Linked DNA regions of Homo sapiens: region 2 is linked to region 1. The links are contacts of gene promoters, found by promoter capture Hi-C in blood cells and fetal thymus (Javierre and others, 2016). All regions are on one chromosome and are shown on one strand. The core of a region is centred on a gene start or on the middle of the fragment in contact, and the rest is flanking DNA. Distances in the headings are between cores, read along the strand shown. Region 1 holds the start of NPTX2 (neuronal pentraxin 2). Region 2 has its middle 55 kb from the start of BAIAP2L1.

What was found. Contacts are between HindIII fragments. The CHiCAGO score rates a contact against its expected background, and 5 or more counts as called.
Region 2: a fragment that was not itself captured here is called in contact with the fragment with the promoter of NPTX2 in region 1 in 1 of 17 cell types (naive B cells); the score reaches 5.2 in naive B cells.

What each region holds. Positions count from the first base shown.
Region 1 is chr7:98,615,538-98,619,953 of GRCh38, reverse strand. NPTX2 (neuronal pentraxin 2) reads right to left here and starts at 2,669. Exons shown (of 5, transcript NM_002523.3): 1 at 2,067-2,669; 2 at 95-311. The coding sequence starts at 2,492. RefSeq lists an enhancer at 1,215-1,841. The HindIII fragment of the contact is 4,236 bases long and covers 406-4,416 here.
Region 2 is chr7:98,454,127-98,458,542 of GRCh38, reverse strand. It overlaps the pseudogene PPIAP82. Among named protein-coding and RNA genes, the nearest start is that of BAIAP2L1, 55 kb to the right of the region's middle. The HindIII fragment of the contact is 2,616 bases long and covers 1,280-3,895 here.

The sequences.
Region 1 (4,416 bases), core at 1,420-3,919:
CAATCCCTGCTGTCCATCAACCAGAATCGCATGTCTGACCACAAGTGGTGAAAATCAGGCCACTGCCAGACAGAGAAACAGGCCAGGCACACACCTCGCTCCAGCTCGGTGACCCTCTGCAGCAGCGCGTTCAGGGTGCTCTCGGTCTTCTGCCGGTGAGCCGAGGTCTCATTGTGCAGCAGGGACTTCTCGTCCTCCAGCTCTGCCACCTTGCGCAGAAGCTGCCTCTCCAGCTCCCCCAGCCGCTGCTGGAGCACCTCGCGGAAGTCGCCGGGCAGCCCAGCATTGGACACGTTTGCTCTGAGCTGGTGCTTTCAGCCACCGGGGAGGAGGGAGGGGCACAGAAAGAGTTAAAAAGAAATTGTGAAATGTGGCTGTGATGGCCCGACCACACAGGGAGAAGCTTCCAAAACGCAAGCCCTGAATCTTGCCACTGGCAGGCAGGGGAGCATCTCACTGATGCTTTTTTGGTATGGAAAAGATTTCAAAGTCAGATAAGAATTACTTTGCTGCAATATTTGAAACTTGTGAATCTAATTTTCCCTTCTCAAAAAGCCGTTTTTCTCCTCTTACTAAAAAGTCAATATTCTAACCAACGCCTAGAATTCTATGTTGGGTAGAGACCAAAACTCAGCTCCAGGATTTTTTTTCTTTTTTAAGAGTAAATCGATGGTTACACAAAGCCAAGGAGCTTTCACCTAGAAATGAAAACAGCCCCCAAGTTCCGGTCTGGCACCAAGGTAAATAACTATGCATGCAGAGATGTTTCTGGAAAATGACAGATCTAAAACGTTGCTATTCTGAACTCCAGCAATCTTTGTTTTTAATGCTGTTTCTAAATCCTCACTTCCTATTTCTCTTTCTCCCCTACCATCATGTGGTTCTGGAGGCTGTGGCAGGCTGCCTACCCATGAGTTCATGGCAAGCTATTTACCTTTCTCCACAAAGTGTTCCAAATTGTGAAATGCACATAATGGGACCTGCCTCATGCCATTCATTGTTCCAAGGATTAAAAAATTAAATGATGTGCCTGACTCATATTTAGTGCTCCAGAAATGTTAGCTGTTAGCAATCACAATGAATCAGGGGATATACAGATGCTGGAAATACTGTATTCAGCCCTCACGCCAAAAGAAACCCTAGAGTCATTTTTGCAATAATTACCACCTGTAATTTAAACCTAGTTTTGCTGAGAAGTATTTTCACAAAGGCTATTAACAGCAGTGTCCACACTTCTTAAAAAGGGTGGAGCCTAAAGATGAAAAATAATTGAAGATTTTTCTCTCAAAGTTCCAAACTGCACGCATTTTCAGAGATAGAGATGAGACGGAGGCGGGAGCGGGGGGCGGGGGGGGGGGACGGAGGGGGAGGGGGGGAGGGGGGGAGAGAGAGAGAGAGAAGGGAATGAGGTCCCTTCCCCTGAAGCAATCCGGAAGAGCACCTTAAAATGGTCCAACTTGCAGACACGGGAGTCTTTGAAGTTAACCAGAGGTTGCCCCTCTAATGCGCGCTCTGGGGTCGCCGGTGACCCCCTGCGCTCGCCTCCCTGCGACCTCCGCCCCCAGACTTCCGCCCCCTCTAGCTCAGCCTGACCTGATTTAAAGAAAGAAACACCACATGCCCGGGGCAGCTGACCTCCCGCGGCAGCCTCGCAGCAACCCGCACGGCCTGCGGGAGCGCATCCCGGCTCGCGGAGATTTGGAGATTTGCAAGAGGATAGAGGCTACCGCGTCCCCGGGTATTTGGCGCCCGCGGCTTGGCCGTCTGGGTTCGCTAGCCCGGACCTCGGGAAGTGCTCGGCGGATCCCGCTGGCAGTCCCGACGCGCGGGGGTGGAATTTAAACGTTTCCTTCCAGCAAGAGCAGCGGTGTGGGAAGGGATACCACGCAGGGGAGTTCCCGAGCAGGATCTAGATCCCCGCCTTTCACCCTCAAGTCCAGCTCACCCCCACGGACGATCACACCCTCCCCAGGGCCAGGCCCCCTTTCCCCATCCTCCCGAGTCTTCCGCCCCCGACTCGGGAGCGTCCCCATTCCAGGTCCCCCGCGCTCCCCGCGGGCCGCTACCTCGAGGCTCTCCAGGCGGTCCTTGAGGGTCTGCAGCGAGCGGCTGAGCTGCTCCACGACGTGGCCGGGGTCCCGCGGCAGGTCGCCCATAGTGTCCTTGCCCGTGGCCCCCGCGCCGCGCGCCTTGCCGCCCGCCAGCCCCTCGCAGCGCGCTAGCTTGCCCGTGAGCTCGCGGATGGCCTCGCGCTGCGCGCCCAGCGTCTCCTTCTGCTGCACGACGGTCTCGCGCAGCTGCAGCACCGCGGCCCTCAGCTCCTCCTCGGGACTCTGCGCGCCGCCCTGCATGGGCATCGCGGGCAGCGGGCAGCCGGCGTGCACCGCCTCTGGGGGCAGTGCCGTGCACACGAAGCGGCTACCGGGCGCCGGGCTGTCCTGGGCCCCAGCGGCCACGGCGAGCGCCACGCTGGCGGCCAGCAGCGCCAGCATCCCGCCGCCGCTGCCGCGCTCAGCTCGGCATGGGCGAGCGGGCGCCGTCGGGGCGCTCCGCGGGAGGCGCCTTCGCTGCTGGCAGTAGCCGCGCTGTCGTCTCGAGGGTCGCGTGCACCGCGGGGCAGAAGTCTCCTGCCGTCTCACAGCCGCACCCACCGCGCTGCTCGGCACTCTGGCCTGCCGGGTCCGCGCGCCCTTTCTTAAGCTGAGGGGCGGAGGGGGCCGGCGTGTGGGGCGCGCGCCACGAGCTCTGATTGGCTCGGCCGGGTGCGCGTCACGCAGTGGGCGGAGCGGGGCGGGGCGGGGGCGCTTTCCGTTGCGCGCCTGGCGGCCGGGCGGGAGCGTGGGCCGGAGCCTGAGGCGAGAGCGCGAGGTCCCGGGCTCTGCCTCAGGAAAGGAGGCCTGAGGTGGAAAACGACACTGGGGCTCTCGAGAGCCTCGGCTGGCCGTGCCCAGGCGCCCCTCGAACCCACCCGAGGACGCGGGCGTCACAGGCTGAGGAGAAAGTGGGAACCCCTCGGTGTCCCGGTGCCCCTTTCTCAGGGTGGCTTCTGGCGCGGCACGGGGCCTCGCTGCGCGTTTGCCGCCGCCCTCAGGGAGGCGTTTTCTCCAGCAGGAGCAGCCCCCCAGGCGGGACTCGAACCCCGACTGCCATCGCGAGCCACCCCCGCGGCAGGCGTGGGCCTTCTCGTCAAGGCCCGGCCACCTCACTCTCGAGGCGGGAAGGAGCCGCACGACGGCCGCCTCCGGATGCAACGGTCCCCGGGACGCGCTCCATGGCCCCGCCTCCACCCCCCGCGCCAACTCGGAAAACGCTCGGGAAGAATCCCGGGGGCCTCGGGGACCGGGACCAGGACCAGGCGCCGGACGCTGATGGGAAGGAGGGGACACCCGGAGTTAGGGACAAAGTCACGAGGCCACTCGCAGAGCCCTCGCGCGCGTGTTCATCGACTGCCCCCTGGGCGGTGACCTTATTCAGCAAGACCTGAGCTCAGGGGCGGGGTGACATCTAACTGGAGTCATCATGATGGAGCCACGTGGTCCAACAGTGCCCGGTCCTTGTAACCAGGAGGGCCCGCAGTGTCACCACTTCCTCGAAGTGAGGCCACTGCCCTCAGCTTCTTGGAGACAGCAGATATGAGCAGAAACCCCCAAAAGTCAGGAGCAAATTTGTTTCAGAATCTCTCCAAATCTGTGGCTTAAAACAAGTTCAGAGGGATTTTGGTGCACAGCTACAGACTGAGCTGGTTTACTGCACATTTATAAATGGAAATCTTTATTTCTTTTCCTCTCTATGTTTTTAAGAAATCCTGTTGCAAGGTCATTAATCACGTTATCCATTATACCACAAACAAATGGATTTGTCACTTGTGCGCAGAAGCCGAGGTTGATTCTGAAAGCAAATTGTACCAAAATAAATGAAATTATTATGATAATATAAACTAGACTGCAGTGATTAATCTCTAGAAACCAAATTCTGACCTGCTTTGCACTTCAAACAATAGCTTCTATTATGTAAATAGTTGTGGGGTTTTCAAGGACATTATTGCTAAATTATAAGAAAAGTTCTATTCTTGAAAATCTCTTCGTGGATAAAAATGAGAGACAGGAACCTGGTCTGCAAGGTATCCAAAGCAGAGGACAATGGAAGTAATGATGGTTCAGGTAAGAATATTCATTAGCAGAAAAAGGTATGGATGGGAGATTTGGGGTGAGTAATGGGCTCATGTTTCTGTTAGCCTGCATCCCCAGGAGGTGTCAGTTTCACCTTGTTAAGTATGACCTTGACTGGACTCATTCTTCCTACATCCTTTTTCAGCTGGATGAAAACTCGAAAAAGTTCAAATAAACCTACATATGCACAAATTACAATAATGAAGGCAACAGGGTTGCAAAGCACTTTATGCCTTGTTACATTTCA
Region 2 (4,416 bases), core at 1,338-3,837, 160 kb after region 1:
CTGCCCTGTCCTGGGGTGTCCAGCCCTGCTCCCTGGACCCCCTTCGACATCCCCAGGCTGACTTTGGTGGGCTGCATTCCCTTTCGTATCAGCCAGCTTATGAGTCGCAAGCAACAGAGTTGGATTGTTAATTAGACAGAAGGGAACTGATGGGCAGGGTACTAGAGAGTCCACACATTTGAATTTGGGAAAGGCATGGCTGCCCCGAGACAACATGGTCCACGTGACCACCACCACCGGAAGGAGTGCCCAGGAAGAGCAGACGTCTCTGATTGGCTGAGCTCAGGTCACATGCTCAGGCTGCAAGACATGCTGGGAATGGAAGACCTCGTGTTTTCAGTTCCTAGAGTGGGAGGTGTCCCCACTGCTCACCAAGATGCTTAAGGAGGGGCTTTGGGAATGCCTAGGACAGGGCTTCAGATGTCAGACTGCAAAAACAGATGATCTGTGTCCTCCAAGCTTGGGATTCAAAATCCAGGCTGCCTCCTCATATACACTGGGTCCCACCCCTCATTCATTCTGCACCCCCAACCTTGTGAGCCCACAGCTCAGAAATTCAGGGGTATCTCCACCATCGCCCTGCACCAGCGCCTTCTTGGGAAGAAGATGGCTATCACTGATGTCCTTCTCTGAGTCCCCAGCTCAGCATCTGTGCTGCAGAGGGGCAGCTGGCCCCAAGGTGGCTCTGATCATTCCAGGAGCAGGAGTCCCCTATGGTGTTTAGTAGGGGCAGAGCCAGGAAAATAAGCCAGCCTTAGGCTGGGTGCGGTGGCTCACGCCTGTAATCCCAGCACTTTGGGAGGCCGAGGCAGGTGGATTACTTGAGGTCAGGAGCTCGAGATCAGCCTGGCTCACATGCTGAAACCCCATCTCTACTAAAAATATAAAAATTAGTCAAGCATGGTGGCGGGCATCTGTAATCCCAGCTACTCGGGAGGCTGAGGCAGAAGAATCCCTTGAACTCCAGAAGTGGAGGTTGCAGTGAGCTGAGATCGCGCCGCTGCACACCAGCCTGGGTGACAGAGTGAAACTCCGTCTCCAAAAAAAAAAAAAAATCCTGCTGCTACTGGGGCTGAGTCCTCTAGAACCCAAAGGCCACAGATCCAAACTCAGCAGGTGTCTGAACCTTGCTGGTCCCCGTCCATGGTCATTACTGTCTGCCAGGTGGATCTCAGGACTCACCCTTGACATCTTGGGCCAGAGTGTCTCCCTGTTTACCCAGGTGGTGTGGAAGAGATGATGTGGACCCAGGAAGAGGAGCCGTCCTGGGGATAAAGCTTTCATCACAGAAAGCAAAGCAGAGATAGGAAGAAACCCTCATGACACTGGACTCACTAAATGAAACCCATGCTGGCACCCACTCTGCCTCTGGCCTTTCAGTCACATAAGCCAGGAAATCTCCTCTAATGTCTGAGCCAGAGTGAATGCAAACAGCTGAACATATTTTGATGAATGTGGCTGTGTCTTTGCGGTTCCTATCAAATGTCATTCCCATGCACCGCCATGCTCCCTGGGGAGGTATCGGGCCAATGGTCATAGGCGAACAGCTGTTCCACCCCCTTGGGCTTCTTTCTTAGAAACTCATCATATCCCAATGGACATTCAAAACGTTATCTTTTTACAAATCTATATCGAGCTTCTCTGGGTGTCCTTTGGAATTTACACAGTAGGATGTCCTGGAGAAATGGCCACTAGGCCTTTATTCCCTTGTATAACCTGAATATATTTGGCTGTTCTCATGGACCAGTCCTTGCAATGTATACTCATGTAAATCTTTCATATCGGCTTCGTCAAAAGGTAGGCCCAGGGGCTTTAGACAAATCTTTTCATGGAAATTTTCTGAAAATCCTCACCGGACATCTCTTTCTCTCTCCAAATTTCCCACTACTGGCATCTACTAAAATAGGTCTATAGCTTATTCACGCAGCACCCTGGCTACCATTTATTTCTCCCTCCTCCTCCCTGAGCCCCTCAATCCATCCTGGATTTCTGAATTTCTGCCCTGTGACTCTCCTTCTAATATGTCCTCCTTCCATTGTTCTTATTCTTGAGAATTAGCTCTTTCTTAAAGAATAGTAAATCAGGATCTCACGCATGCTCTCAATCCATGCACACCACCTCACACATTCAAACACACACTCACACATATACACATACTTACAAATGCACACATTCAAAGCTCACATACACATATATTTATATATCCTACGCATTCACTCATGCACTTACACAGACTCACACAAATGTACACACACATATACACAATGCACATTCAAACATATGTGTGCCCATTATGTGTACATATTCAAACATACATGTATCCATTATATGCATGAATTCAAACATACACGTACCCATTATATGCACACATTCAAACATACATGCTATTCATTGCAAGGACTGGTGCATAAGAACAGCCAGATAGATTATGTGTGGTTTGAATGTGTGCATTCCATTATAGCAGCCGCCTTGGACTAAGACACACACTCACAGTTATGTATCCTTACACTCACATAGACACATACACCCTACTCACTCCCAGACACACACACACACACACACACACACACACACACACACACACATTTTCCCTTCCTCTCAGGGGCTTCTAGCAATGCCACCAAACCCCATCAGGCTGGCTTCATATATCACACACTTTCACTCATGCTCTCACACAGACTCACACAAATGCACACACATGTACTCACAACGCATACATTCAAACACATATGTACTCATTATGAGCATATTTTCAAACATACCTGTATCCATTATATGCATTTCCTCCCAGAAGTTGGGGAGTTTGGCATCTCAGTGTGGCCAGCCCCTAGGTGTCAACACTCCTTCTCCAGCCCCTGGGATCTGTGCCCAGTTAAGGAGGAAGATGCTGCATACAGCTGTCCTTTCCCTGGTGGGGGCTGTCAGCCCATGGGGTGTTTCTTGCTTTCAGACCTGAAAAAGGTACAGGGTCATCCCTGCTCCTAGATTTCTGAAAAGTCCCTGAGTGGTCATGAAATCTGTCCCATTCATGGTGAGTCTGTGAAACGCCAGAGGATGGAAGAAGAGGCCATCCAGTGATGCTGCTGCTGATGCCCCTGCTACCCTGGTAGCATACTGGGGACATGGCGACTCCCTCTAGCCCCAACAGGCTCCTGGAGGATGTCTGTCTGCCTCCTCCCACTGGCACTGGCTTGTAGAGGTTGCCTTCAGAGCTTGGATACACCTGCATCATTCCCAGCTCCCCAGGCCTGCCCACTTCATTTTAGTCATTGATCCTGGGGGCTGCTGGAAGGGTTCCCCAGCTGGTGACTCTAACAGTGAGAATTCAGGACCAACTCCATTCTGCAACAAAATCCTGGTTTACTCAGCCATTCTTGCTTCCAAGGGGTTCTAACAAGCACCTGGCCCACCATGTCTGAATGTCCAGACTTAGCTCAACCACTACCAATTGGTGGGCCTCCAGACTTAGCTGAACCACCTCCAATGGGTGGGCCCCCTTCTGTTGAGATGCTCTTTAACAAATGAAGGCCAGCCAGACACTCCTCTGGGCAGTGAGACTGTCCACCTCAGAAATGGAGGCATTGGCCAGACATGGTGGCTCATGCCTGTAATCCCAACACTTTGGGAGGCCCAGGAGGGAGGATCCTCGCTTGAGACCAGGAGTTTGAGAACAGACCGGGCAACAAAGCCATATCCCATCTCTACAAATAATAATAATAAATTAACCAAGCATGGAGGCACACACCTCTAGTCCCGGCTACTCAGGAGTTTGAGGCAGGAGGATCGCTTGAGGTCAGGAGTTCGAGGCTGCTGCAATGAGCTATGATTGTGCCACTGAACTCCAGCCTGGGTGACAGAGTGAGACCCTATTTCTTGAAAAAGAGAGAGAGAAGCTTTGCAGACACTGCCGCCACCAGGAACTCTGTACTATCAGCCATGGTCAACCCCACCGTGTTCTTCGACATTGCTGTTATCGACGAGCCCTTGGGCCGCGTCTCCTTCAAGCTGTTTGCAGACAAGTTTCCAAAGACAACAGAAAACTTTCATGCTCTGAGCACTGGAGAGAAAGGATATGGTTATAAAGGTTCCTGCTTTCACAGCATTATTCCAGGGTTTATGTGTCAGGGCGGTGACTTCACACTCCTTAATGGCACTGGTGGCAAGTCCATCTACAGGGAGAAATTTGATGATGAGAACTTCATTCTAAAGCATACAGGTCCTGGCATCTTGTCCATGGCAAATGCTGGACTCAACACAAATGGTTCCCAGTTCTTCATCTGCACGGCCAAGACTGAGTGGTGGATGGCAGGCATGTGGTCTTTGGCAAGGTGAAAGAAGGCATGAAGATTGTGGAGGCCATGGAGCACTTTCGGTCCAGGAATGGCAAGACCAGCAAGAAGATCACCATTGCTGACT